Regions from separate parts of the Homo sapiens genome. Here regions 1, 2, 4, 5 and 6 are each linked to region 3. The links are contacts of gene promoters, found by promoter capture Hi-C in blood cells and fetal thymus (Javierre and others, 2016). All regions are on one chromosome and are shown on one strand. Each heading gives the region's core, a stretch centred on a gene start or on the middle of the fragment in contact. The rest is flanking DNA. Distances are from core to core; before and after follow the strand shown. Region 1 overlaps ANKRD44 (ankyrin repeat domain 44). Region 2 overlaps ANKRD44 (ankyrin repeat domain 44). Region 3 holds the start of ANKRD44 (ankyrin repeat domain 44). Region 4 overlaps BOLL (boule RNA binding protein). Region 5 overlaps ANKRD44 (ankyrin repeat domain 44). Region 6 has its middle 34 kb from the start of PGAP1.

The links. The method cuts DNA at HindIII sites, captures the fragments that hold promoters and counts their contacts. A CHiCAGO score of 5 or more calls a contact.
Region 1: a contact is called between a fragment that was not itself captured here and the fragment with the promoter of ANKRD44 in region 3, in 3 of 17 cell types (neutrophils, total B cells and naive B cells). The highest score is 7.2, in neutrophils.
Region 2: a fragment that was not itself captured here is called in contact with the fragment with the promoter of ANKRD44 in region 3 in 4 of 17 cell types (total B cells, monocytes, total CD8 T cells and 1 more); the score reaches 9.1 in total B cells.
Region 4: a contact is called between a fragment that was not itself captured here and the fragment with the promoter of ANKRD44 in region 3, in 1 of 17 cell types (M2 macrophages). The highest score is 5.0, in M2 macrophages.
Region 5: a fragment that was not itself captured here is called in contact with the fragment with the promoter of ANKRD44 in region 3 in 1 of 17 cell types (total B cells); the score reaches 5.7 in total B cells.
Region 6: a fragment that was not itself captured here is called in contact with the fragment with the promoter of ANKRD44 in region 3 in 1 of 17 cell types (neutrophils); the score reaches 5.8 in neutrophils.

What each region holds. Positions count from the first base shown.
Region 1 is chr2:197,020,693-197,024,343 of GRCh38, forward strand. The region is part of intron 17 of ANKRD44 (ankyrin repeat domain 44); the gene reads right to left. Among named protein-coding and RNA genes, the nearest start is that of PGAP1, 96 kb to the left of the region's middle. The HindIII fragment of the contact is 5,296 bases long and covers 1-3,651 here.
Region 2 is chr2:197,040,978-197,044,394 of GRCh38, forward strand. All of the region lies in intron 16 of ANKRD44 (ankyrin repeat domain 44), which reads right to left. Among named protein-coding and RNA genes, the nearest start is that of PGAP1, 120 kb to the left of the region's middle. The HindIII fragment of the contact is 4,276 bases long and covers 1-3,417 here.
Region 3 is chr2:197,308,835-197,312,275 of GRCh38, forward strand. ANKRD44 (ankyrin repeat domain 44) reads right to left here and starts at 1,946. Exons shown (of 28, transcript NM_001195144.2): 1 at 1,744-1,946. The coding sequence starts at 1,770. It overlaps ANKRD44-DT (ANKRD44 divergent transcript), which reads left to right and starts at 2,232. Exons shown (of 4, transcript XR_923750.3): 1 at 2,232-3,441. RefSeq lists enhancers at 286-345, 797-1,298 and silencers at 1,422-1,801, 1,852-2,171, 2,182-2,261. The HindIII fragment of the contact is 14,364 bases long and covers 1-3,441 here.
Region 4 is chr2:197,771,586-197,775,112 of GRCh38, forward strand. It overlaps BOLL (boule RNA binding protein), which reads right to left. Exons shown (of 11, transcript NM_033030.6): 6 at 270-397. Among named protein-coding and RNA genes, the nearest start is that of BOLL, 12 kb to the right of the region's middle. The HindIII fragment of the contact is 3,006 bases long and covers 595-3,527 here.
Region 5 is chr2:197,002,636-197,006,296 of GRCh38, forward strand. It overlaps ANKRD44 (ankyrin repeat domain 44), which reads right to left. Exons shown (of 28, transcript NM_001195144.2): 21 at 3,059-3,275. Among named protein-coding and RNA genes, the nearest start is that of PGAP1, 78 kb to the left of the region's middle. The HindIII fragment of the contact is 2,440 bases long and covers 355-2,794 here.
Region 6 is chr2:196,958,867-196,962,236 of GRCh38, forward strand. No RefSeq gene overlaps it. Among named protein-coding and RNA genes, the nearest start is that of PGAP1, 34 kb to the left of the region's middle. RefSeq lists a silencer at 3,159-3,268. The HindIII fragment of the contact is 4,897 bases long and covers 1-3,370 here.

The DNA.
Region 1 (3,651 bases), core at 1,020-3,519, 290 kb before region 3:
AAAGCCTTCACTAGAAGTATTAAACATTTTAAATTGTTTTAAGCAACACCTTTAAAAAGCCTTATTAGGTAACAATTATTTCTTTTTTTTTATAATTATATATGGAGTTTTTTATTATTATTATACTTTAAGTTCTAGGGTACATGTGCACAATGTGCAGGTTTGTTACATATGTAAATATGTGCCATGTTGGTGTGCTGCACCCATTAACTCTTCATTTACATTAGGTATTTCTCTCAATGTTATCCCTCCTCCCTCCCCCCATCCCACGACAGGCCCAGTGTGTGATGTTCCCTGCCCTGTGTCCAAGTGTTTTCATTGTTCAGTTTTCACCTATGAGTGAGAACATGCAGTGTTTGGTTTTCTGTCCTTGTGATAGTTTGCTCAGAATGATGGTTTTCATCTTCATCCATGTCACTACAAAGGACATGAACTCATCCTTTTTTATGGCTGCATAGTAGTCCACGGTGTATATGTGCCACATTTGCTTAATCCAGCCTATCATTGATGGACATTTGGGTTGGTTCCAAGTCTTTGCTATTGTAAATAGTGCCACAATAAACATACATGTGCATGTGTCTTTCTAGTAGCATGATTTATAATCCTTTGGGATTTACAATCCCAGTAATGGGATGGCTGGGTCAAATGGTATTTCTAGTTCTAGATCCTTGAGGAATTGCCACAGTGCCTTCCACAATGGTTGAACTAGTTTACACTCCCACCAGCAGTGTAAAAGCGTTCCTATTTCTCCACATCCTCTCCAGCACCTGCTGTTTCCTGACTTTTTAATGATCGCCATTCTAACTGGTGTGAGATGGTATCTCATTGCGGTTTTGATTTGCATTTCTCTGATGACCAGGGATGATGAGCATTTTTCATGTGTCTATTGGGTACATAAATGTCTTCTTTTGAAAAGTGTCTGTTCATATCCTTTGCCCACTTTTAGATGGGGTTTTTTGATTTTTAAACTAATTTCTCTCAGGAACTGACCAAACAACCAAACCAAATGTTAAGTAAGTTTACAGAATATGTGAGCTGCACAATGAGAAAAATTTCTCTAACTGCCGTATAAAACACTATGTCTAGCAACTACGAAAGACAACTTTTTATAAACAATTATCTCTTAAACGTGATTAATTTCTCCAGACCTTTTAAGATAGGAACTAAGGACAATGAGGGGAAAGAATTGGGATCTCAACAGAATCCATGAGAACAATGGATCTGTCTGGAAATCTTGACAGCTAGAGCCTTTCATTTGCATAACATTGTTTCTTAATTTAATCTTTTCAAGAGGATGAAATGCTTATGAAATTCACTGGGCCAATAACCCTGGAGATTTGAATCATTCAGCCAGGAAATAGTAACTCAAGGCAGGTCAGGTTTCTTGTAGCAGTCAAGGTTTGGGGGCATCTGGTTCCATTACACTGCTAGATGGCTTCCACCTAAGAAATTATGTGCCTTGGGTTTTATCAAGTTAATTGCTACTGAGGCCCCTAGAGAGGGTGATGGGCATACCTTTTGGGTCCTTAAAGCAAATAATTTGTATTTAGAGAGAAAGAATAAAATGACTTTAGAAGGAATCCACCGTAATCACCCTGGTCAAAGTCATGGTCATCATCTCTTGCCTGGTTTGCTTTGCTTCTGCTTTCGTTCCCTTGCAATTTTGACTCAACATAGAAACTAAAGTGATCCTTTTAAAACAAAAGTCACATCATATCAATCTGTTTCCTCAAGACCCTCCTAATAGTTTCCTATTTTGTTCAGAGTAAAAGTCCCCATGAGATCTGTGGTGGCCCCCCAAACTCCTGGCTCCCTCCACAACATGTGAGGCATTGCCCCCAGCTACTCTCCTCACCACTCTGCTCCAGCCACAGTGGCCCCTTTCCTGTTCTGTGGACAGTTCATGAGTTCCCCCAGGGACTTTGCACTTCTGCCCAAAACACTCCTTCATCAGATGTCAACATGCATAGCTCTTAAGGTCTCTGTACAAATATGAGATTCTATGCTACGTAAAATAGCACCCTGGCCAGGTGCAGCAGCTCATGCCTGCAATTACAGCTACTCAGGAGGTTAAGACAGGAGGATCACTTGAGCCCGGGAGTTTGAGACCAGCCTGGGCAACACAGTGAGACCCCACCTCTTAAATAAATAAATAAGCACCCTGTCTGCCATCTCAATACTTTCTATCTCCCTGATCCCATTTCATTTTCTCTGTAGCACCTGCAGCACTTATTGCCATCTGTCATTTGAGATATTTCCTCGCCTGTTTGTCTCCCCTAGACTGGATACTCTGCAAGGGCAGAGGTGGGGTTTTGTTCACTGCAATATCTCCAGCTACTCAAACAGTGCTTGGCACTATTCACAGTCAGTGTATGTTGGATGAAAGGATGATGTTAATAATGATGTTATATGATGTTAGTAATGATGACGATGAAGCTAGCTCATGGCACATATGTGTGCCAGGCACTGTTCTAATTGTGTTACATCCATTAACTCATGCCATCTCCACAATGGCCCTACGTTGAGGTACTGCTATTCTCATATCATGGGTAGGGACACTGAGACATAAGAGGTGAGGTATTTGGGTTAATATCACACAATAAACAATTCAATAAATTAACAAGTTGGAAAGGGTCTTTGAGATGCTTAACTAACAGATTCCCTTTAACTTACAGGTGGGGAAACCATGCACAGGTGAGTTGCTAATGAAAAGAATGGCAGCTAGGACCTCCACTTGATGTACCTTTCCTGGGTCTCTGTCAGCTGCAGAACTACCAAAGCCCACCTCTTTTAAATGATATCACCACCCTATCTTTACGCAGCCAGCAACCCATAGAGTTTAGCAGAGTACACAATAAGCATTCAACAAATACACTGTGGAAAAAAAAAAGAAGAACGAGAGATGATCAAGTCTTTGGAAGCCAAGAAACTCTTCTCAGATTAGTAGCAGGCTTGGCAATGCAGTCAAACCCACTTTCTTGGGGCCTGAGAATTGTATCTGAGATAACCCTCCACATAAGACTCTCTAGGGGCAGTTAGTGCTATGTTTGTGAGTGCTCAGCTTTGGGGTAACTTCCCCAGGCACAGCAGATGGTTGGGCAGGGATTCTAGCAAGCAACCTGTACTAAGGGCCAACTGGCATGAAGATTTATATGTATAAATATCCCACTATTCATCCACATTTTCCACAGTAAGTCCATCTCCGGGAACACAGACTGATGCACACTTTACCCTGATTTCACTGGACTCAAAATGCATGTGTGTATGAGCGTGTAGTGGGTGTGTTGGTGGGTGTCAGAGGACGTGTGAGTGGGTGTCAGCAGGTGTGCTGTGAGTATGTGGGGAGACAGGCAGTGAAAGGAAAGCTCCACACATATGGTCAGTTCTGGATACTCCCAATCCTTGTGTGATGGCCTTGTCTCCGCTCTCTTGCCTGAACACCTCTGCATGTCAATTAATAAAACACTCCTCTCTTCTCTCCAAAATTTCCAGGTCAATTTTTCATCAGAATGACACTGAAGGAGTGCTTATGTACACATAGTATTAAGTGAAAAGTCATAAACACAGTTAAACAAAGAAACCCAGCCCCTTCCCATTCTTCCTGGTGTCCTGCCCCTGGGTTTTACTAAGCAAAGAAGCATCCAAACACCA
Region 2 (3,417 bases), core at 781-3,280, 270 kb before region 3:
AAAGTAAACTTTGACACCACTCATCAGCTTTAATGCTAACAGAAGCCTTCAAAAGTCTTACTATCCTTTGGAAATGCCTATAAAAGTCTCCTCCCCTCAGTACTGTTCCACAACTAACTCTTTTCATAAAAACATTGAGAGAATTTAAGAAGGTGCCTTTCCCTTCTTCCAAAGGCACTTGTTGGACAAGAGACAGAGTAGACAGAGCTATGATGTCCCAAGAGCAGAAAATCCATCCCACTGGATTTCCAATGAACTCTTCTTAGGCTCCGAGACTGAGAAATCATAGGCTCCTCTCACCTCTTCAAGGGTCTACTTTATCCAAAAGGTCATGGTAACGGCCAAGGATTTTCATATGGGCTACCCTCTCCTGGTTCCCATTGGTTTGTCCCTGCAGTAGCCAGTAACACAGGCTCCCGCTTCCTGGGCATCTGTCTCTCTCTCTCTCTGGGCATACCCTATAGGCCTTGGCTCAAGCATCAACTATGGTCTTCAAGCCACCTCAAGACTGTATGGCCAGCACTTGCTCATTTTTCTCACTGGAACCAACAGGAGTTGCCTAATGCCAGCAATTGCCTCTCTTCTCTCCCCATTCTAAGAGAAAAGGTCAGCCTTTAGAGTGTTGAATTCATTCAGCACACTTCAGTAGGAATTCACAATGCATCTTCCTGTCTCTTTTTCTGGCCTCCTTCCTGCTTAGAATTTTTAGCAGAACTACAGGGAACCTCACTCCAGCAGGATACCTATAGATCTCAGATCTCAGATCACCTGCAGCCCAACAGGCAGACCCCTCTCTCCTTCTCCATCTTACCTCTCTTCAAAAATAAATCTCACCACAGAAGAAAATGAAATACACAATAAAGAACAGATTATTTACAACAGAAAGCAAGAGCACATGAATCTAATCTAAGCTAAACATGATAATTCAAAGAATTGTTTTCTCCAAAGTTCATACAATTTCATTTCATTAAATCAGGTTTTCATTTAGGTAAGATATCTATTGTACCACAGCTATTTAATGGGTACATTAATGAAAAAAAAACATAAGAAAAATATGTTTTAGATTTTAAGAAGACAAAAGCCTATATAAAAATCATAATATAACTTTATCTTCTTTTAATGTAATAAAACTATGATACCCCCAAGCCTGATTTTGTGTGTGTGTCAATTTAAAAAATGGTTCCTACTTTGAGTCTTTCCACTGCGGGGTCCACCTTAGCCACACACTATCCTCCTGATAATTATGCCTCTTTTTATTTGAAGGGGTTCCTGGTAGCCAGCTTGCAGGCCTGCATTTGGCAAATCTAGCCTTCTTGGATTCACTTTCTGTGAGCTTTTAGACCATATCCCAGTCCTACTCCTGTTACCTTGTCCTTTGGCTATTATTGAATAGGAAATATCTACCATTTCCTTCACAAGTGGCCAACATTGTTAGGAGAAAAGGAAGAATACTGTCCATAAGACTCAATTCCTATTGCTTCCAATTGTATCTTCTCATTCCACATCTGCCCCCTCCACTACTAAAAAAAAAAAAAAAAAAAATCCAAATTTCTTTCCTCCAGGCCTCCATATTTAAAGAACTACCTGTCTCTCGGGGAAGACAGGCATTCTGCTTCCTACCCTCTCTCCCCCAATGTCAAATATAAATCACTGTCACAAATCCAGAAAGCCCAGGAATAACATATGAATTTTAAGAAGTCTTAAAATCAGGTCCTAAACTGTTTATTTTTATTTATTTATTTTTTAGTTTTACAACCTCAGCTGAGAACTGACTAAACCTTTTCAGGCATCCAGCAATTCTGAAAGTGAATCATGTTCAGCCAGTGAGGCATTTTCAGTAAATGCAAGGCATTTTCAGTAAAGGCAAGAATGAGGCATTTTCGGTAAACAGTGTCCATCATATAAAACTCACTGCAGTTTATGAATTTGGGCCACCAGGATGCAAATGCAGCCGTTTCACTCCCTGGATTCAGAGGCTTTTGCACCAATGTGGGTGTGTCTATGGCTCCTTTTCCATCTGTTGTTTGTGTTTTGTTTCTAGCTGTTAATTAGCTTGTTGAACAGCAGGTGTGAGAGAAAGGGATATTTAATTTAGTAATATGTACCACAAACGTCCTCACGATTCTCACCCTAACCAGTTTCACTGTTTGCTGATAGCTTCAATAAACGGGTTTAAGAAGAGAGGTGAAACTGTTGACTAAAATTAAGTTTTTGTAGTACCTGGACTTATCCTACTACCTCAATCCCTAGTAATGAAAGAAAACCTAAAATGTAGTGTAATTCTATATCATTCAGAAGAGCAATTTAATATAATAGAAATCTATACTTGTAAAGTTCCTTTCTTATTGTTCCCCATTATCTATTAGAATGACTTTGCTCTAGTTTTGACAAGGCTTTTTAAAAATTTTTTGTAGAGATGGGGGTCTCACTATGTTGCCCAGGATGGTCTCAAACTCCTGCCCTAAAGTGATCCTCCCACCTCAGCCTCCCAAAGCACTGAGATGACAAGCATGAGCCACCCTGACGAGGCTTTATTTTGAAAGTCATGTTAAAAAATACTTTCTTACACCCTAAAAATTATGGAAAATTAAATATTGACAAAGTTTTGTTTTTAATTTTTAAAAATGTGGGGCATCAAATATGTTAAGCATGCAGATGAAAGGCAGGTGAAAAAAAATTCAGTGTTCCATTTAAAAAACAGGTAGTGATGCTATTAGCTTGACACGGGGGAGACTAAACTACCTTTATTTGCTGGACAACAGCATGGTTGTCAAAACTGGACCCTGGTTTTTTTTTTCCCTTTCAGGACACATACTGTATCATGGGTTCTTTAATTTAGTGTATGGATTAGGTAGGGACATATTTGAAAGCACTAATTCACTCTTGATTGCCAAATTCATAAAGTGAACTGCTTAAGGTTAGATAAGAATGATCTATTTATAAAATCTAGTGCCAAAAATTAAAGTAATTATACTAGAAGTGTGATTTTTATTTCTGATCTTTTTAAAGTCAAGGGATCAGTGATCAAACAATTAAAATGAAGAGTCCATATCTTAAAATAACAAATTCAATTTGTAGGATATTTTCTTTTTTGTTTACTTACTGTATTTCTTGGAATTTTATTTATTAAGCAATAAAAATGGAAGTGAACACAACTGCATAAAAATTTTGGAATACTTCTCTGTATGTTATCATAGTCAAAAGATGTTTTTCAGAATTTGTCTTATGATGCCAAATTATTCCAAAATTTCCTAAATGGTTGATAAACAGAGTAAGAACTGGATTATACATCAGCTCCTGCAGTTTCCAACTGCACATTCCAGTTTTAAAGTATAACCATAATGTATGCTTTCCTCAGAAGGGTGCCTGGCATTTATTTATGATGGTCAATTTTTTTTGTTGTTGTTGAGATGGAGT
Region 3 (3,441 bases), core at 696-3,195:
ACATCCAATGAGATGATGGAGCTATCCTATACCAACTGTAGCAGAAAGTACAAGCACCTGGAAGGCAGAAGACAAGAGCTAGTCCCAGTCCTGCAGGCCTATAGCTGGCATTCTTTGAGGAAGACTTGCTTCACTTCTCCAGATCTGTTTTGTCATTTAGAAAATGAAGGGTTTGGGCTAGATCATCCTTAGAGTCCTTACAACTCTAAACTTCTATGTGATGTTCTTTCTTATATGTGATAACAATACCTATTAGAACCATTCTTTGTACTTTGAAGATCTAGGGATTAACAGACAAGTACAGCAACGTGTACTAGCAAAGATGACAGGCCCAAGACACGCTAAAACTGTAGGATTTAAAATACGCAAATGTCTAACAGTTGGCAAAGTATGTGACCAAAAGGTGAAGGAAATCCTGATATCAACTTACACTTTTAAATGCTCTGGAACCAATGAGAACAAATACATTCATCACAAGTACCAGCTGCTCTTCTTACTAAATTTAACAATAACATGAATTTTAACTCAGTGATTTCCCCATCACCAACCCCGCCAAACACCTGTAAATATTTAGGAAAAACAAGCTAAAAAAATTGAATCTAAAAGGCAGGAGAACAAATCATTGCAAATCATTGTGGTGACGGACTGCACTTCAGTTGCAAGATGTTCTGGCTGGATACTAACTGGAGAACGCAAGGCAGCAGATGCAACCCATGGACAAGTTTGAGGTATTTAATACCAAGGGCTGGCAAGTCTGACCCTGTAGTCAAAGTCAAGATTGCCTCTCTGCCTACCAGGACCCCAAAACAAAGTTCCTTTCACTACCCACGAATAAACGGGGGTGGGGGTAGCAAGCCGTTTCCTTTTTTCGTGGAAAGAGCTGCAAAGAGTTTTGTCATGCAACTTGGTTTGGTGCCTGTTAGTGTCAATGTAAGAGCAGCAGAGTCCGCGAAGGTGGCTGTTACCATTCCACAGACCTGCGGCGAGGACTGTCAATCCGATTCAGCAAATAACCCCACCTCTCCAAGCCAGGACTCCAGAGCTGCCCTGTGTGGTGTCTCAGCAAGGAAAGCCAACAAAGCTGGTAGACACAGGCAGACCGTAGCCCACCGCCTGTGAGTGGAGGCTCCGAGCCGACTTCACCTCCTCCTCAGAGGGACCGGCCCGATCCGAAAGGGCGGTCTCCAGGGGTCCCCATCCCGCACCACGCACACAGCCTGGCGCAACTAAAGAGGAAGTCGGATGTCACATCCAACGGATAAATAAAGACAGCCCGGCCACACAAGAGCCGCATTCTGGGCAGGACTCCTGCTAGGTTTGGGGAGGGGTCCCAGTCTGCGATCCTTTCTCCCTCTTCGTGCAGCGTCCTCCTCCCCGGGGCCCGGGCCGGCGGCGCCCACGCAACGCGGCGCGGTGCGAGTCCCGAGAGCACCTCGAGCCCCCGGCCCCCTCCCCAGCCCCGCCGGGCCCGCGGCCGCCGCACTCCCGCACGCCGGCTGCCCAGCGCCCACGGGCCCTGCCCCAGACTCGGGCGCGCAGTTCCGACGGCCCAGGGCGGGGACGGCGCGGCGGAGGGGAGCTGCCGCCGCGGGCTCTCGGAGGCACCGGCGGCCGCACACAGTCCTCCCCTTCGCCGCGAGTAAACAGCTCGCGGGCGCGCTCCAGCCGCGCCCCCATCCCCCCGCCGGGCTCCGCGCCGCCCCGCGCCCGCGCGTCCCGCCCGCCGGCGCCGCCGCCCGCTACCTGGTCGGTGAGTTTGAGCACTGCCATTCTTCCGCTCCTTCGCGCGCACACACATGCAGGTCCCCGGCCCGCAGATGTCACGCCGGGAGCCGGGGAAGCGGAAGGGATTGCCAGGAGAAGGGAAAAAATCTGGCTCCCGAATTTGACAGCCCTCCCCCTGCTCCTCCTCCGCCGCCGCCTCCTCCCGCCGAGAGGCTGACACTGGCTAGTGGGGTTTGCAGCCGAGCCCGCCCGCCTTTCCACAGGAAGTACCGGCTGCTGCCAGCCGGGCCGCCACTGACATCACCGCGCGCTGGCTCGCTCGCCGCCCGCCGCCTGGGCCGACGCTGCCTCCTGCCGCCCGCAGCCGAGCCGCGCAGCCCGGCCCCCGGCGCTGCCCCCGCGCCCGCACCGGGCCGCCGCCTGCCTTCCGCACCTGCACGCGGCGCCCGGCCGGGCCGGCCCCGGGCCCTGGGCGGATCGCGGGCCTCCCTGACGGGTCTCACACATATGGGTGGGGAAGCCCGCGGGGACACACCCCGAGGGGGCAGGAAAGGCTCTCACTCACATGCCGTCCACTTTAACCGGGGAGATGGGGTTACGCCCCCTTCCCCTAACCCAGAATCAGGTGGTGGCAGCGCCCCGAAGATCCCAGGGACCGCAATTATGATGCTCCCTTTGTTTAATGCCAGGAGGCAGCGGACACATTGTGATTCTTTACAGGGTGTTTGCCAAACATTTATGGGTGGAGGGAACAGAAGCTCTGGCCCTTCCACCTTGTTCTCCAGCCACTTTCCAGCTAAACACACACACACATATGCACACACACATACTATTGTTAAATTCAAACACCCTGGGTTTGGTTTTTGCTGGTGGGGGTGGAGTGGAGTTCCTGGAGAAGCAAAGCAGTCCTAAATCACCGAGTTGATGGGTCTTTTGGGTGTTCCCACCAGTCCTTACTGATCTCTACAAAATCCCAAGTTACCAAGCTCTTCAACAAATAGAAGACAGCTGTCAAACACCATGGGCTACAGATACAACGGGCATATTCGTAAGCATAGTAGCTGTTGATAGTTCTGGAATTTGGAGCAAACACTTATTCATTGAACAGCTATGTACTGAGTCCCTACCTTGTCAGGCACTGGCTAGGCACGGGAATAAACGGAGAGCATAAATAAGATAACCTGCTCTCAGAAGATGCCAACATAAACCGCATAGTCTCTGCTAATGAATGTAATTACAAACTGAGATAAGGGATCTCAAGGGAAAACATGCTTCTGAAGTGAACCCACAACAAAGGAATCAGACCAGACTGGTGGGTGAGGGCAGGCTTCCCTGAGAAAGTGACAGGAGTTGAGATCTGGAGAAGGGAGAATTAAGTAAGCAAGTGGAGAGGAAGTGCTCCCAGGCAGCCCCATGTGCCCCTGGCAGGCCATAGAGCAAACCTGTAGGGCAGCATTGAACAGCTTTGAAGAGCAAACTAGAGCTACAGAATTCTTTGGTCAAGACCAAACATCTGCCTCTACTGTATATTCACAAACCAAATGTCCATTCTTCCTCCCTACTCTTAGAACCTCCCCCAAAGATTCCACATGAGACAGGAGAGAAAGGAGCATTAATATCCTCACATTTACCATCCAGCCACTCTGGTTGTCGAAGCAGCTAAATCTCAAATTTACCTTTATTAGTCTTATAGATTATAATTCAGATCATGCAGAC
Region 4 (3,527 bases), core at 848-3,347, 460 kb after region 3:
ATAAAATGAATAGGAAAGATATTCTGCTTACTTTTGAACAGGAAAGAGGGTAAGGAAGTGGGGGTAAGGAGAATTGACCTGAAGCTGTCTTACTTTACTCCCCATTTTAAGAACTTAAGTAAATGTGGCAAAATGTTGATGTCTATTTAATTTGGTTGATGTGTGTTATTATTTGTAATTATCTGTGGTTAAGATATTTCAGAAATATAACAAACATTAAAAAATTGATAGTAATAGATGGAAATCCTTTTTTAAATGAAATTACTTACAGGCCAAGGCGGTGGGACCGAAGTTACCTCTGGAGTATGAAAATAAGCAACACCATTATGGTAAGTATAAGGATATCCAGTTGAAGTTGTTAGATACATTGTTCCAGCTGCTGGCATTATACTAGAACCTAAAGCAAAGATTAAATAATAATAATTGAAATGTTCAATTTAACTGTTAAAAATGTAGTTTCTAAACACTTCAGAAAAATATTTATCTTAATATACCTATGTAGCTATGGTAAAAATTGAATGTCACAGATATTTTTAAAAAATTCCTTATGTCAAAGTATCTTTGAAGCCTGTATTTTTAAACTCAATACCTTAAAGCTTTTAGTTTAAGATGATTAAAAGAAAAGAAAAACAATACGAATAAGAAATACCAAAAATGTATCAATTCAGATTCCAACACCAGTATGCTACACAAAGCTGAACAATTTAGACTATCATCAGCGAAGTAATTATTTGTACAAATATAAATTATGTATAATTTAAAGTTACTTCAAGACAACATACACTGTAGTGAAGTTCCTAAGGTCTTGGCTAGACCTTTTATTTCTGAAAGTCCAAAGATGATGGAGGCAGTAAAGTTGGAGAAGATTCTACTTTCCTGAAGACATTTTGGTTCCACCCTACTAATTCTTTGGATATCCTACCAGCAAACATTCGTTCATGCTATGGCTGTCTTTTATCTCTCTTTTCTATGATCTATTCTCTATCTAGTCTCCCTTTGCTACAACTGCTGCTGTTGCAAACATGACCGCAAGTCTTCATGTGGCTAGTCTGGGGTCCCCAACTCTTTTCCCGGGCCAAGTTATATAAACCCCCACCACAAACCAAAAAACAGTAAATAATATACATAGATATATATATATTTTTTGTCATTGAGGAGACTTTAAAAGTTAAATTAGCCAAATTAGATTAGGTCTTAACCAGCAAGGTTATATAAATTAGTGAAACTGACAATTCTTCCACCTATACCAGTGCTTCTCAAAATTTCCCATAAATTAGAATCACTTAAATTGTTTTCTAAAATGCAAATTCCAGGGACTTATCTTCAGAGATTTTGAGTCAGTAAATCTGGGACAGGGCCTAAGAATTTGCATTTTGACAGCTTCCAATGAAATGACACTGTCTGCAAACCACACTTCAAATAGCATGGGCCTACCACTTTAAATAATACTATTGCTCCTCAGCTTTTATATTTTCACTGCATTTGATCTAGTATTGTTATTATTTATTTTAATGGTTCTTAATTAGATCCTTTTGAGAATTTGATGAAAATCAGGGACCTTTTCCTCAGATATATATACAGTCAAACACAATTTTACACACAATTTTGGAGGTCCATGGATTCCCCCCAAAAGATATTCCACTATTATTCAAAGATAATGATAATGGTTCATTATTCAATAATGGTTCATTATTCAAAGAAAATGAACCATGCTTTACCTGCTAAATAAATAAATTTTCAGTGCATACTATTTCAAGGCATTGAACAGGGCCCTAGTGATACAGCAAAAAATAAAAAAATTAGACATGAGATGGTCTGTATCCTCAAAGAAGTTAGGTCTGGTAGTGAAGATAGTCATTAGTTGATTACACAATTAATTAATTAAATACAATTTTGATAAATACATGAGGCATTATAGGGTACGATACTGAACATTTCAATTATTATGTATACAAAACATATATAAAATTTCTCTCTATATACATATATATGGAAAATTTGTGATGAAATGATGTTCAGCTAAGCTCTAAAGAATGAATTGGATGGCAAAGTACATTCTAGGTAAAGAAAACAGTATATTAGATTCTGAGAACAGGAGTATAGAATGTTCTGGAACTGAAAGAAGGCTACATGGCTAAAGCATGGAAAGAAAAGGGAAGAATACCTCAAAATAAGCTGAGCATAAGACAATAAGAGGTGCACTTTTGAAAGATCACTCTGGCTGCCTTGTGAATGATGGATTGGAAGGTAGAAAGATTGGATTCAGAGAGACCACTTAGGATGTTTTTCCAGGAATTAAGGTAAACAAAGTGGTTAGTTGGGACTCGGGTGTTGGTAATGGAGATGGAAAGAAATGACAGATCTAAGAAAAAACTAAGATAAGAATCCCTTATTTGTAAATGTACTTTTAACACCTATTTTTCTTCGCAGAAAAGTCAAAAGAACTTTGGAGTCAAACAGTCCTGCATTTGAAGGCTAGTGCTACCACTCACCATTAGGCTATTTAACCCCATACTTCTTAAAGTTGGATAAGGGATGGATGGTATACCAGGAGATATGAAAAAGCAGAGGCTGAACATAGTAATCTTCCTACAGAATCAGTTTTATTCAATTGTTTTTGGGAAATATTTTTATATTCAAATAAACAATATGATATTATGGAACAGAATGCAAATTATACATGATGTTTTTGCATAAATCATGAGACTTTAAAGAAAATTTGCAATTCCAGTATGCTGCAGTGGGTTAGGAACCACAACATGCCAAGATTAACTCTCCTCTACCTTTAGGAGTATTTCAGCAGAAACATTTTTAAAACAATGACTTTATCTTTTTGGGATTGAATTTTCTATTTACAAAAATAGAGATAACAATACATCATGGGATTCTATGAAGATTAAATGAAAACTCATAACATTGACCCTTGCACTAAGTAGTTTTGAAAAAACTATTTGTATATGTGAAAGCATTCAGCATAGTGCTGATTTATTTTCTATTTCAGCAACTGGTAGATCATACTATGAGCATTACTATTTAGTACATATTGCTGGTGATAATGGGCTAACGGACCGTTACTATATGTTCTAGCTTAACCTTTGCAAGTAACAACAGTAGATTGAAAATATTCAGCATTCTGCCATATTTAGTGCATTCCATTTTGTATTAACCTACTGAGGATACTTTGATTGTCTCCTAAATTAACAAATACTAAGTCAAAATTAAACTTAATATACATCAATCTCTTTTTTGTTGTAGTTGTGGCAACTGTATTAACCAAATATCTATTATTTCTAAGTCAAAAGCATAACAGTCCAAATGAATACAATCTATTAATTTGTTAACAGATTATATATAATAACCTAATGTTTTAAACATTCCCGTAGACACTAGGATGTGGCTAAGGGAAAATAAGTTAGTTATAAATTTTACATCACATTTCTCCTTCTAGCCAAAGACTGTTAGGAATTTTAATAAATATTAAAGGTAAAAAGTTAACTATAAAGATGCCTAACTTAATAAGTAGAAAG
Region 5 (3,661 bases), core at 325-2,824, 310 kb before region 3:
AATTGTAAGACAGATCTTGCTGCCTGGTATTGTCTCCCAGGAAGAAGGGTGATGGTTCCCCAGCCTGACTAAGCATTCCCTCATTACAGACCTGGTTAAAACAAAAAACAAAAAACAACGACAAAGTCTCTGTGGTTCTCAATTCTAATGTGGGAAGGCATTGCCATTTTGCTTTGCAACACAGATTGTCCTGAAACCTCTTCTTGGTTGAACTCAGTGCTAAGTTAGTGAAAGTTCCCTTATGATCTACCTCAGAATGATGTAGATGGGACAATTTGAAATATTAAAATACAAATCAAACTTTTCTTATATCTAAAAAGAGAATAGGCAATATTGCTTTTAGACAGATTAAAAAGCTTATGAAGTAATAAATATAAAAAACTGGCAGTGGCTGGGCATGGTGGCTCATGCCTGTAATCCCAGCATTTTGGGAGGTCGAGGCGGGCGAATTACTTGAGGTCAGGAGTTCAAGACCAGCCTGGCCAACATGGCGAAACCCCATCTCTCCTAAAAATACCAAAAAAAAAAAAAGATGTGTGGTGGTGCCTGTCTGTAGTTCCAGCTACTCGGGAGGCTGAGGCAGGAGAATCGCTTGAACCCAGGAGGCAAAGGTTGTGGTGAGCCGAAATCACGCCACAAGCCTGGGTGACAGAGTAAGACTCCATACACCCCTAGAAAAAAAAAAGCCAGCAGCTCTAGGAAAGTTGTATGATTTAGCCTTCCAACTAACTACATGGAACCGTCATTGAAATAGTCCCAGACACCTCAAGTCTTCCAAAGGATCTAGCTTAGGGTAGCATCCACACATAGCATTCCTTAAGTGGGGACTATATGAATCCCAATTTAAGAGTCTGTACAGGTAGGACTGGAGATGACTGAGCTCCTTTCAATATTTCAAAGTGCCTAGTAAAAAGGAGTCTGGGAAGATGGGAGCTTGAAACTCAGTCCTGGACAAAGGCTGCACTGAAAGGGTGAACGGCTTAGGAGGAGACTGCTCCTCCTCCCCTGCCTGTACCTGGAGAGGCTAGGAACACAGACACCTCTCACCCTGAGCCCTGAAGAGAGGATCTGGTCTGTGTCAGGTTTGCGGCCCGCCATTATAATCAGCACTCTCACTGCATCCTTCTCCTCTTGTAGGTTCTCCAGTGCCAGAGAGCTCCCACAGCTTGACCCAGATGGGGGTCACCCATTAGTAGGTTAAAAAAAAAAATCACAATCCTCCAATGGCAGGAAGGGAACAAAACCAAGTTGAGGAAATAGAAAATTTGGCTCTTACTGAGCAGAATGAATGAAAAAAGAGGACCGTAGTGAAAACACAGTAAGAGGTCTTAAATTGATATAATTAGAACACACACACACACACACAAACGCCTTTTGTGGAACTATTAATGGTTTCTAAATTAAAATTTTAATTGACTAATTGAAAATGTAAAAAGAAAATTATAGAAGCAAAGTAAAAAATACATGGGAAAATATCCATATAATCTTAGGGGTAGGAGACCTTTTGAAGAGAGACTGGAAACCTGGAAACCATACAAAATCTGATAGGATCTTGGTTTTGTTCATTGACATATTTCAAGTATCTAAACAGTAGCTGCCATTGTAGTTATTCAATACATATTTGTTGAAAATATAATAGAAATGTATCTCTGTAACTGATTCAAGTACATAAAAGCTCAAAATCTCTAAGTGGAAAAAAACATCCTAAACAAGGAACAAAAATATTCATATTTCTAAGACATTCATATCATTAAACATTCATTCATATCACATTCTTATCACCAAGACAAGGTGCTCCCACAAGCATACGAGAAAAGATAAATAGCTCAATAGGAAAAAAGTGAACAGTGGATGGAAAAAGTAATTTCTAGAAGAAGAAATACAAATAGCCAGGGTACTATTAGATAGGGAAATGCAAATTGAAACAAGAAGATACCTTTTGCCTCTCAAATCGACAAAAATTTAAAAAGGTGTTATTCTGGGTTGGCAAGCATGAGGAAAAACACTAACTTTTATACAAATGTTTGGTGAAATAATAAATTTTGATATCCTTTTTGCAAAATAATATGGTATAATTTATTAAAATTAAAAAATACACAAACCCCCTTACTCAATAATTTTATTTCTGGAAACTTATCTGAGAGAATTTATGGTACCATAATATGGACATGCACATTGCTGCATTGCTTGTAATAGGAAAAAAGAAATCTGAATGTCAATCCACAGAAACCTGGTTGAATAAATAATAAGTTCTGGTATACATATTGCTATGAAATAATATACAACCATTATAAGATCAATCCATATTGATACATATTGACTTGTAAGAATATCTGCAATACAATTTAAACACCAACAAAAAATTATAGAATGGCTGCTATTTGTTCTATAATTCCAGTTTCAAAAAATATACACATTAATTTATAATTATTTATATTTTCAAAGGAAAAATTATGAAAGATGCACACAAAATTACATTAGAAAGTAGGTTTAGAAATGGAAACAATTTTACTTCAGATATTTCTGTACTTTGGAATTGGTATAATTAGGATGCATTTTTAAATTAAGTGAAATACAAATTTAAAAATCTCCCAAATAATAAGTACAACAAAATAAATAAGGAATATGAAACACAACAAACACCAAAAGATGAACCATGCATCTACTAGTAATCAATTGTGACAGGTTATTAAATTATATACATATATTTGGTATTAGTTTTATTATTTTAATCCCTTGTGGGATCCTGGTTATATTATATAGATCAGAAACCCTGAATAAAATTGGTCATTTAAGCTTATCGGTTCTGATTACGGTTAAGTGTTAATGATTAACTAAAAGGGGAAAGTGAACTTTTACTCAGTTAAGGCATCACAGCAGCTGTGGAGGGGTGAGAACTATTAAAAAAACAAACAAAATACACAAAAAAGATATCTTGGATGCAGAAAGATTAGAAACCATGGTTTGCAGAATTACATAAGGCTCTCACCTCCACTGAGCTCACAGTGGTCCTGGGGTAGGAAGTCTAGTGGAATCAGTCAAATGATAAGCAACTCACCATTGTAACAAGCCCAGTGCAGCGGCGTGTAGCCTTGGTTATCTTTGAAACAACAGTCCTCCTCAGAAAGAGCCATTTGGAGCAGCTCGCTCAGCCACGTGGCGTGGCCACGAGCAGCTGCATAGTGCAAGGGCGTCCTCCCTCTGGAATCTTTACAGAGAATTGACACTTCTTGTTCCAGCAGCATTTGCACACATTCCTCGTGTCCTGTCATAATCTGATGCATTGTAATTAAAAACACAAAACAAACCTCAGAAGACTAAGGAAGCAAAGCAGTTGGCTAAGTGAGGCTGGGCTTAGAGCAAGTGGACATATGCCTGGGTCTTTAAGGAAGGCAGACTCTGTCCTATTTCAAGGGCAGAAGGCAGGACAACCTCAGCAAAATTCATAACAGAAAAATCTGTGAACATCAGCATTTTCGAAATATCTCTTGCCTCTCCTGACAACTGTGAAAGATATCATGATGCGGCCGGGCGTGGTGGCTCACGCCTGTAATCCCAGCACTTTGGGAGGCCGAGGCAGGAGGATCACTAGGTCAGGAGATCGAGACCATCCTGGCTAACATGGTGAAACCCCATCTCTACTAAAAAAAATACGAAAAAT
Region 6 (3,370 bases), core at 601-3,100, 350 kb before region 3:
TCCTATGGAAAAATCTAGTCAAGACCACGATGAATATGACTTAATTTTATAAATGATGTTTATACTCCTGCCAAAAAAAAAAAAGCCAAGTAGATCATTGATTTCTTACAAGTTATTTTACCAATTGTGGTTTAGAAAATATTTCTAATCCAATTGTCACCTATCTTTACCTGTAGAAACAAATGTGGTCACACACTTTACCTGTAGAAACAAATTTAGGTCACACATTGTATAAATTATAATGGGATTCAAATTTTATTTTCTTTAAACAGTAGCTATTTTTCTTCAAAATGGTCCTGGTTATTTCTGGGAGTCCCTGAACATATGCTTTCCTCATATTCACAAACCAATCTATCAGCTTTAATCACTACTAGAATCATCCACCCACTTAATTAATAGGTACTGAGTGCATACTATGTGAGAGGATACAACAGAGTCCTACAGAAATCTCTGTCCTGGCCCTCTTGGAGCATCCCTAGTATTTTTTCTTGTCTGCTCCAGTTCTCATCTGTCAACATGAAGTCCTGGCAAGCAGCTGGAAGAAATTTTTATCACTGCCTTCACTGAGGAAGTCCACTGCGAAACACTTGACCAAGAATGTGCTGAGAATACTGTCTCCCAATGTCTCCAAAGTCCCCATCACATGTGCCAGAACAATACTGGATTCCACAGGGAGGTGGGAAAAAATGGCCCTCTCCAACTCTGTGTCACTCTTTGACATCTGGGCCCCAAAGCAAGTCCTGTTCATGAAAAAAAATATTCTGTAGTTCTAGGGGCTCACAATCCACCCAATGGCCTCAGTGTCATGTTATCGTCTCCATTATCCTCATCACCCCTCTTCCCTGCCCCAAGCTATTACCAAACAAAAGCACCCAGCAATGTCAATGAGAGAAAATGTACAGTGGGTGCTGGTGGTTGTTTTTATACTAGGAGTGTCTGGACGCCAGCTGAAATGGCCTGTGACATTGTGTAGCATAATTCAAAAGTTTGGCCAGCAATCCTGCATACAAAATGCAACCACTTGAAGGTTTTGCCCAGAGCTATGGCAATAAAGTGCATAGCAGCAGTTCAGTGAACTTTCTCCATTCTTCAGCCTGCGCAAAGCACTGGCTGATGTAGCCAGATATTGTTGTCCATGGCTTTAATTATTTAGAAGTAGATATGAATAATAGGGAGCTTGAAGTTGTCTAGAGCTTGGTGTGGTGCTGGCTCAAAATAGCAACTAATTCCTATGTAAGTTTAAAAGAGCTTGGTATGGGTAACCTCTAGAAGATCCCAAGCCAAGTAGAAAATGTGGTCAGGAAAAGGATTCAGCCCTTGAATATTGAGAAATCATGTTGTCACAGAGAACACGTGACAACTTCCATGTGCAAACAAAACATAACAGATAACAGGCCATTCAGAAACTGTTACTGAGGGACTTGCTCTTGGAAGGCTGAGGATAAATTAAAATAAATCCAACCAACACCAAGTCTGACTTGACACGTAGGTGAGGCAGAAAGCTGAAAAAAAAAAAAAAAAAACTTCCAGAATTGGAGTCTTGGATAATTTTAAATGGTCTCATTCAAAAGTTCCTATTCTATAGTAAAAAAGAGTTCAACATAGGGCTATGATATTTCTAAAACAGGACTTGAATGTGGATCAGATGGCTGAAATTTTGATATTTCTAGTATTTTGCTCAGTTTTGTTCTTCCCATCATTTAAATGACCTCAAAGGAAATGTTTACGATCACTAAAGATTTCTAATGCCCAAGAATAGGTCAATTCTCAGCCCAGGGCTTGACAAATTAGCAATTAATTATTGTTTTTATTTTTAAAATATTTATTTAAAAGGCAATGCATATTTGTTTTAGATAATTTTTTTAAATACAGAAGTAAATACATAAGATCAAAAAGGTCTCTTCCAGCCATGTGTGGTGGCTCACGCCTGTAACTCCAGCATTTTGGGAGGCCGAGGTGGGTGGATCACCTAAAGTCAGGAATTCGAGGCCAGCCTGGCCAACATGGCGAAATCCCATCTCTACTAAAAATACAAACATTAGCCAGGCATGGTGGCAGGCACCTAAAATCCCAGTTGCTAGGGAGGCTGAGGTAGGAGAATCACTTGATCCCTGGAGGCGGAGGTTGCAGTGAGCCAAGATTGTGCCATTGCACTCCAGCATAGGTGACAGAATGAGACTTGATCTCAAAAAAAAAAAAAAAAAGTCTCTTCTACTCCTACCCCAATCCCTACTCCCCACAGGTAGCCACCACTACATTTGCAATATATCCTTCTTGTCTTACATCCTGATGCATTTACATCTTCTTTCTAGAATGTGGGTTCATGTTATGTGCAATTTAGCTTTTATCACTAAATAATTTAAATTGGATAGATCCCACTATATTGATTAACATTATTTATCCAATCCCCTTTTGATGGGCATCTGGATTATTTTCAAATTTTGATTATTAGAGATGGTGCTGCAACTAACATCCTTATACATTCATATTTATGCATTATGGAAGCATTCTGGGACATAAACCCCCAGGGGTTGAATTGCTTGGCCAGATGGTATATGCATTTAGAATTTTGATAAATACTCCCAAAATTACCTCCAAAATGTTGGCACCAATTTACACTCCCACCAATGATGACTAAGAGAGCCTGTTTCCCTACACGCTCCTCACACTTTGTATCAAGGCACTGACTAGTTAAATAAAGGAATGTGTCTCTCACTTCAGAAAGACATGGTGATAAAGATCTTGCCTCATTCTCTTATTTTCCTTTATTTTCTCTTTCCTTTTCATAAGTGCCACTTAATCCTAAGGGAAGAAAAAAGAAATACTTGTTTGGTTTTCAGAATGTTCCTCAAAGGTACATGAATTCTGCAAGTTATGAACACCAATCTTATAAACACCCATACCTTACAAATAAACTGCTCATTTATATGTAAAAATTAACTATCCTGAAAGTGGGAAGACAGTCCCTTTTAGATGCTGGAGATGGAAAAATATACTCCTCATATCTCCCTTTGACTAGTCATTGATTCATGCATTCACATATGTATGAGTCCACACATTAGTTCATGCTTGCATCCATGTATACACTTATCTAAGTCAGATAAGTTCTGGGTACCATGCTGATCATTATGGTTGTGGAAGTGAAATACAGTCTCTGCCTTCAAGAAGATCACAGTGTAACTTAGTGGAAAGACAGAACAGGAAACCAACAGTTATAGAGTGAGAAAGTGCTACTTTCAGGTTCATGCAGAGCTCCTGAAGAGCAACAGGGTAGGATTGGCACATATGTGAGAGTGGGCTGCAGACAATGCCAGAAATCTGGTTCTGGGAGGGACCAGGCAACTATCACATCTAACCCAGTTGGGGAGGA